2 separate regions of the Homo sapiens genome follow, and region 1 is linked to region 2. Evidence: promoter capture Hi-C in human tissues and cell types (Jung and others, 2019). All regions are on one chromosome and are shown on one strand. Each heading gives the region's core, a stretch centred on a gene start or on the middle of the fragment in contact. The rest is flanking DNA. Distances are from core to core; before and after follow the strand shown.

Region 1 (3,917 bases), core at 1,104-3,603, 450 kb after region 2:
ATGTGTGGGGCATTGGAAAGAGTACTTATGAAGGTCTTGCCTCAGGGGAATAATTAGCCCTAGAGTTGGCATTGCTCTGGTCCTGCCTAACAAATCTTTTTTTTTTTTTTTTTTTTTTGAGACACAGTCTCACTCTGTTGTCCAGGCTGGAGTGCAGTGGCATGATGTCCGCTCACTGCAACCTCCACCTCCGGGATTCAAGTGATTCTCCTGCCTCAGCCTCCCGAGTAGCTGGGATTACAGGCATGTGCCTCCACGCCCAGCTCATTTTGTAATTTTAGTAGAGATGGGGTTTCTCCATGTTGGTCAGGCTGGTCTTGAACTTCCGACCTCAGGTGATTCGCCTGCCTTGGCCTCCCAAAGTGCTGGGATTACCGGCGTGAGCCACAACGCCCAGCAGTTAAAGACTTTCTAACAACAAAAAGCTTAATACTTTTTTTTTTTCTTTTGAGATGGAGTCTCTCTGTCGCCCAGGCTGGAGTTCAGTGGCGCAATCTCGGCTCACTGCAACATCTGCCGCCCAGGTTCATGCGATTCTCCTGCCTCAGCCTCCCGAGTAGCTAGGATTACAGGTGCCTGCCACTGTGCCCAGCTAATTTTTGTCGTTTTTATTAGAGATGGGGTTTCACCATCTTGGCCAGGCTGTTCTTGAACTCCTGACCTCGTGATCCACCTGCCTTGACCAGCCAAAGTGCTGGGATTACAGGCGTGAGCTACCGTGTCGCTGGATACTTTTTTTTTTTTCGAGATGGAGTTTTGCTCTTGTGGCCCAAGCTGGAGTGCAGTGGTGCCATCTTGGCTCACTGCAAACCCCGCCTCGTGGGTTCAAGCAATTCTCCTGCCTCAGCCTCCCGAGAAGTTGGGATTACAGGCGCCCACCACCATGCCTGGCTAATTTTTGTATTTTTAGTAGAGATGGGGTTTCACCATGTTGGCCAGGCTGGTCTCAAACTGCTGACCTCAGGTGATCCCCCCGCCTCGGCCTCCCAAGTGCTGGGATTACAGGCTCGAGCTACCACACCCAGCCAGCTTGATATTTTTAAGCCCATTATTTCCAATATTGTGAATTCTCAGATTTTCAAGTAATAAAATAAGCAAAATGAATCCTTAATAAAAATTCTATCTTGGCAACGCTATTTGTCATTTCCATCCTATGACTTTCTCTTCATATGTAACTGAAATTTCATAAATATTAAGAAATTGTTGTTTGGGCATAAGAATCAGATATGGAAAGGAGGCAATTGTGCTATTAACCGTGTCACTTAGGGCTACTGCTATTTGAGGCGTGCATCACACCAGCAGAATCATATACACCTGGGAGCTTGTCAGAACTGCAGAAATTCTCAGGACCTGCTCCAGACCTAATGAATCAGAATATACAGTTTAACAAGGTTCCTGGCCGGGCGCGGTGGCTCACGCCTGTAATCCCAGCACTATGGGAGGCCGAGGGGGGTGGATCACGAGGTCAGGAGTTCAAGACCAGCCTGGCCAAGGTGGTGAAACCCCGTCTCTACTAAAAATACAAAAATTAGCCGGGCGTGGTGGTGTGCGCCTGAAATCCCAGCTACTCAGGAGGCTGAGGCAGGAGAATTGCTTGAACCCGGGGGGCAGAGGTTGCAGTGAGCCAAGATCGCACCACTGCACTCCAGCGTGGGTGACAGAGTGAGACTCCGTCTTAAAAAAACAAAAGATTGCTAAGTGGTTACTACACACATTTGAGAAGCACTGGCCCTCTCCATGCAATACATTGAGCAAATACAGTCACATGTCACATGATCTTTAGTCAACAACAGACTGCATATAAGACAGTGGTTCCATCAGATTACAATATTGTATTTTTATTGTACCATTTTTAGTGTACCCTTTCTATGTTTAGATACAAAAATACCAACCATTGTGTTACAATTGCCTACAGTATACAGTACAGTAACATGCTGTAGAGATTTGTAGCGTAGGAGCAGTAGGCTGTATCATATAGCCTAGGTGTGCAGTAGGCTATACTATCTAGGTTTGCGTAAGTACACTCTATGGGCAGGACTCAGTGGCTCATGCCTGTAATTCCAACACTTTAGAAGGTCAAGGCAGGAAGACTGCTTGAGCCCAGAAGTTGGAGACCAGACTGGGCAACAGAGGGAGAAACCCTGTCTATACAAAAAAAATTAAAATTAGCCGGCTGTGGTCTAGACATGGTAGCTCAGGCCTGTAATCCCAGCACTTTGGGGGGCTGAGGCAGGTGGATTGCTTGAGACCAGGAGTTCGAGACCAGCCTGAGAAACATAGCAAGACCCTTTCTCTATAAAAAGAAAATTAAAATATACAAAAATATATAATTTAATTTTAAAAAATTAGTCTGGCATGGTGATGCAGGCCTGCAGTCCCAGCTACTCAGGAGGCTGAGGCAGAAGTATCACAGCAGATCGAGGTTGCAGCGAGCTGTCATGGCACCACTGCACTGCAGCCTGAGCGACACAGCAAGACCCTGTCTCAAAAACAAAACAAACAAACAAAAAAACTCTATGATATTCCAATGATAGATTCACCTAAGATGCATTTCTCATATCTCTGTTAAACAATGCATGACTATAATTTCTCCGGTCATGTTTCCTTATGTCTGAAAACAAAGGGCACTGAAACCTGTTTGTTCACTTTAGTTCACAGGCTGATTAGAAAAGTAAGTAAAATCCAATCCAAATATAAATTAAATACACGTGAAATACCAAACCCTCTAGTAAACAGCGAGCTACATACAAGTCCCAGACACTCCACGACCGTTTCTAGATTGAAAATCCTAGGCCAGGCGCAGTGGCTCACACCTGTAATTCCAGCACTTTGGGAGGCCGAGGTGGGTGGATCACGAGGTCAGGAGTTCAAGACTAGCCTGGCCAAGATGGTGAAACCCCGTCTCTACTAAAAAAAAAAAAAAAAAAAAAAAAAAAAAAAAAAAATTAGCTAGGCGTGGTGGTGGGCGCCTGTAATCCCAGCTACTGGGAGACTGAGGCAGAGAACCCGGGAGGCAGAGGTTGCAGTGAGCCGAGACCGCGCCACTGCACTCCAACCTGGGCGACAGAGCGAGACTCCATTTCAAAAAAAAAAAAAAAAGAATATTTAAGTCTTTTCACTTCTGGGAATACACACACACACACACATATATATTTAATCGAAACACGTTACCTTTCACTCAACAACTATTCAAGACAGAAACCATTTCGGGTAAGCAGACTCCTACAGGGTCCCTACTGCACATTTCTCATCGGTGGTCAAAGCAACAAAACGTGAACTAAGCCACAGGGTAGCTGCAGGAAGCTCTATGCCTGGGACCACTACAGGCAGGCACTAGTTTCCCTGTCCACCACTGCCCGAAATGGAGTCGGGCCCGGTTCTCCTGAGCTGAGCAGGCCAAAGCAGGGAGTCCGTGAGTGGACCGGGCATAGCCAGAGCGACGCCGCAGCACCCCAGCCGCAGGGTCAGCCCCAAAAGCAGCAGGGCCCGCTTGATCGCGGATGCCGGGACGCCCTCGTGCAAGCCTCGAAGGGGGGCTGCCACCCCGAACATTCGCCAGAACGAAAGCGGCAGCCAGGAGAAGCCCTCGCAGGTGCTGTAGGGATCCAAGCGCTTGAGCTGAGTCCGAAACTCGCACAGCAACCTCGGGAGGATAAACTCCAGCAACCAGAATCGGGTTGGCGTCGCCTAGCAACCAGGAGCCAAATGCGCGGACGCCAGGCATTGGCCTGCACGTGTCACGTGAGCCAGCGCCGCTGCCCAGTGGGAGATTACGCCGCAGGCACGTGATGCGGCGCAACCGCCCTTTGGCAGAGCTTTTCGCGAAGGCAGTTGTGGCTCTGAGCGCATAGGCGAGGCATTCCTGGGGTTTGCGCCGTATCCTTTTACAAAGTCCTGGCTTTGGCTGGTGCGACCAA
Region 2 (3,648 bases), core at 527-3,026:
AATTATGCTATGGGAGGGAGAGCAGAAGCTCTGGAGTGGATCATCTTGGGTCTAGATCCTGATACTTCCCAGCTGTGTTTTCACTGGGCAAAATGACCTCACCTCCTTAAGCCTCAGCCTTCTCTTCTATAAAGTGGGCATAACAAATAACCGCCTCCTAGGTTATGAGGATTAAATGAGATGGTTCAGGGGATGTGGGTGGTAACCCCGCCCCTGGTTCATAGCAAGGATGTGAGGAATAGCAGTTGCTGTCATAGACATGGAGACTGTTTCCCCAAATGCCTTCCCACCCCCAAATCATAAGGCAGACCCAAACTTGCCTTTTTGTGGACGCCAAGGTTCTGTCGAGCTGTTAGGGTGCAAGTTAAGAAGCCAGAATGGCGGGCTGAGGGGAGAAATGCCCGCATGTTACAACTCTGCAGGTGTACACACGTGGACACCATATGTACCCATGAATTCCGCCTTTGGAAGTGAACTTGATTGCAGCCTATTTTCGTCTGGAGGCGGTGGATTCCCGGTAGGAGGCGCCTTCAGTCCTCGGCTCGATCCTGTGACGCCAGCCAGCTGCCTATCGGCTTCTCAGTGTTTGAACTTCAAAGGGCTGGACGCTCACCCAAGAAGGGGACCCCGGCCTGACCTCTCTCGGAATTCAAAAAAATCTAAGGCTCAGAGAGGGAATGGGAGCTGGCTCTTCCCTCTGTGTTTAGCATCCACGTTTTTTGGCGGTCTGGCTGAAACCAGCCCACCCTAGTTCGGGCGCCAGAGCAACGCAGTTCCGAGGGCAGATCTCCAAGGGGCGGAGGCAGAGCCGCGGGTGAGAGGCTTCCGCGCCGACTTCGGGTTTGCACTCCCCGGAGCCAGAACTCCGTGGCGGCTCCGGGCCTCCGTGGATCCGAGCAGAGACTGGCTGCCCGCCTGCCACTCGCAGGCTGGGAAAACGCCAGCCGGTGCCTCGCCGGGAAAGTTCTCGGCAAAGCTGGGGATGAGCCCTCAGCAGGGCAGGCTCCCGGTGCAGCGCGCCCCCATCCATTGCCCGCGCGCAAGAACCCGGAATGGGCCCCACCTGGGCCGGGACTCGGGCGTGCGATCCCGAGGGCGCCCTGGGGACCACGCATCGGGTGGGGACCCTGGCCGAGGGCGTGAGCTGACTCAGTTTTTAAAAACTCGCTTCCTCCTTCCCTACTTGTGCCGGTCACTCACCTCGCTGGGAACCAGCCCAGGGCAGAAGGGGGAGAGGGAGGCGGTGGCCTCCCCAGGAAGGAGGAGAGGTGAGTATCCCGCCAGGTAAAGGCGGGGCGGCTGGCGGAGCTGTGCCTCGGCGTCTGCGCCTGGTGTGGGAGGAAAGCGGGTCTCCCAGCTCCACTTAAACCCCTAAAACCTGGGACTTCTAGCTTGAGACATTCCCCGACCACCACCCGTCACACACACGCGCGTGCGCGCACACACGCATGCACACCGATTCTCTGGGCCCTAGGGAGGAGGGGGGATCAGGGCTCTATTTTCTCCCGACCCCCTCTTATCCAACTCGGCTGGCAAGGGTTGGGGAGAACTTAGGCCCAGCCCCCGGCACACGCTCAGCGCGCTCCAGCGGCATACGCTGGGGAGTGGGTGCCCGCCTCGCTCAGCTGCGATCCCTCGCCTCGGGCCCGGGGGTGGTGCCGAGGGCCGGGAGGGAGGGTCGGCCGGTGGGCGGTGCTTCTCCGGGCTGGAGGCCGCTCCTGGCCGGCACCGCCCTCCGCCTCCCGCGGTCCCTCCCTCCCGCACGCCGGCGCTCCCAGGCCGCGCTTCCTGCGTCCCCAACCCGGTCCCTGAGAGGGCAGTGCGCCCTCTCCACCACTGCGTTCCCTCGGCTAAGAATCCCCCGAACCCCAGCCCCGCGATCGCGGCGCCCACCGAGGAGGCCGCCCGGGTGGGGCGCGGGGGTCGCGAAGCCCGCAGTCCCGGACCGCCCAGCCGAGACGGAGCCGGACCCGCCGCCTCCCGGGTGAGTCTCAGCCGCCGCGCCTTGCGCCCGCTGCTTCCCGCGGCGCGCTGTCGGTTCCCCACAGGGCCGTGTAAGGGGGCCGAGGCCCGTTTGGGTCTCCTGTCCGTCCGTCTGTCCGCCGAGCGCTTCCCGCCTGGGGTCGACCACCGGGAGGACTCCGCACCCCGCACCCTCTGCGGCCGCGCCCCGCCGGCGCGGGACGCTCCCGCCTCCCGGGCACCGCGCCTGGCCAGCTGGCCTCGGCTGGGGAAGGCAGCTGGCCTTGGGGGCCCCCTGTTGGCGGGAACAGGTGCTATCCGCCCGGCGGGCTTCGAACCCTTGGCTTCGCCAGAAGCGCTTTCAGCGCGTGGTTAGGAGCAGAACTTCCCAGTAGGTCCCAGGAAACCACCTTGGCGCTTTGCTCGCGCATCCCTTACTGTATGGAAGTCGGGGCCTTTTAGGGATTTAGATTCGTGTGTGTGTATGTGTGTGTGTCGCTCTACAAGCAAACACGGGGGTAAAGAATCGGGCATGAGCAAAGTGGATTGAAACTCGAGTCCTTCCCTGAGCGCGTCGGTTTCTTCATCTGTGAAACTGACATGACAACGTCCCAGGGTGCGGCGGGGCATTCATGCCCAGCACCCAGCAAGCACTCAGCGGTAAGTTACGTTACCGGGCCTAGGGGAGAGCAGAGTACAAATCAGATCTCAAATCAGCGCACAAACGGGAGGCGCTTGGCCCGGCGCGCCTGGTCTGCATTACAGGATAATGGTCTCTTTCCCAACCAGCGGTGGGGGCGAGAGACCTGGCCCCTCCCCCACGGTTTCCCCAGGGAGCAGCCCGTGGGGTGTCCTGCGCAGCGCTCCGAGGTGCCTGTGACGGTGCATGGGACTGCGGGTCCTTCCCAACAGCAGGGGAGGTCTGGCTGCTGGGAACCCGGGCGCTGCCGGAGTGGGGTGGGCGGGGACGAGGTGGGCGGGGCAGGGACCCGAACCGGGAGGTAAGTCAGCGGGTGGAAGGCTTTCCCCTCTAGGACCGGCCGGCTTCTGGCTTTCCTTTTGAATGGGTTACCCGGAGAACAGCTTGTCTAGGGAACTGTTGGCCCTGGGACCGTGAACAGCTTTCACACCCCGGAAACCTGTCACAAGAGGATCCTGACCTATTGGGACAGAGCCCCTGCCCCTCCAAATATCTCACTCCACCAATTGAGAGGTACCCCCAGACTGGGAGAAAAGGCCAAAGAAAGAGAGAGGAGGCTAGTGGTGAACCTGCTCCTCACGGCTTCGGAGCTGACAGCTCTCTGATGGGGTGTCTGGGGCCTGCCCCAGTGACCCAGAGCCCAGAAGCCTCAGGGAGCCCCCAGCCTAGTGAGGGAGTCAGGGATACTCATGAAAAGTGTTGCAGAATTGGCGATACAGTCAGGCCACACCACTTGCTGGCTGTGTGACCTGACCTCTCTGAGCCTCAGCTTCTTCATCTGTAAAATGGGATGATGATCTCCAAGGGCGAGGTGGGGTATTTATGCCTAGCACATGAAGTATTCTATAGTAAGTTATGTCACAGGGCTTAGACGAGAACAGAAGAAAGGAAATAACTCAGGAGGTCCTGCTAAGAAAAGAGTATTAGAATATTCATCAGGGAACTGGAGTCCCCCCAGGGAACAGGGGAGGAAGGGTGTCTGGGCA

The links. Contacts are between HindIII fragments. The study calls those that stand out against the background at their distance.
Region 1: a contact is called between a fragment that was not itself captured here and the fragment with the promoter of TMEM51 in region 2, in 1 of the 25 tissues and cell types used here (pancreas).

The regions. Positions count from the first base shown.
Region 1 is chr1:15,599,918-15,603,834 of GRCh38, forward strand. It overlaps LOC124903854 (a long non-coding RNA gene), which reads right to left and starts at 3,626. Exons shown (of 3, transcript XR_007065483.1): 1 at 3,172-3,626. The HindIII fragment of the contact is 5,748 bases long and covers 1-3,917 here.
Region 2 is chr1:15,151,971-15,155,618 of GRCh38, forward strand. It overlaps TMEM51 (transmembrane protein 51), which reads left to right and starts at 1,777. Exons shown (of 4, transcript NM_001136218.2): 1 at 1,777-1,984. TMEM51-AS1 (TMEM51 antisense RNA 1) reads right to left here and starts at 494. Exons shown (of 5, transcript NR_027136.1): 1 at 321-494. RefSeq lists silencers at 1,600-1,869, 1,930-1,979, 2,070-2,249 and enhancers at 1,959-2,620, 2,400-2,489, 2,621-3,282. The HindIII fragment of the contact is 16,508 bases long and covers 1-3,648 here.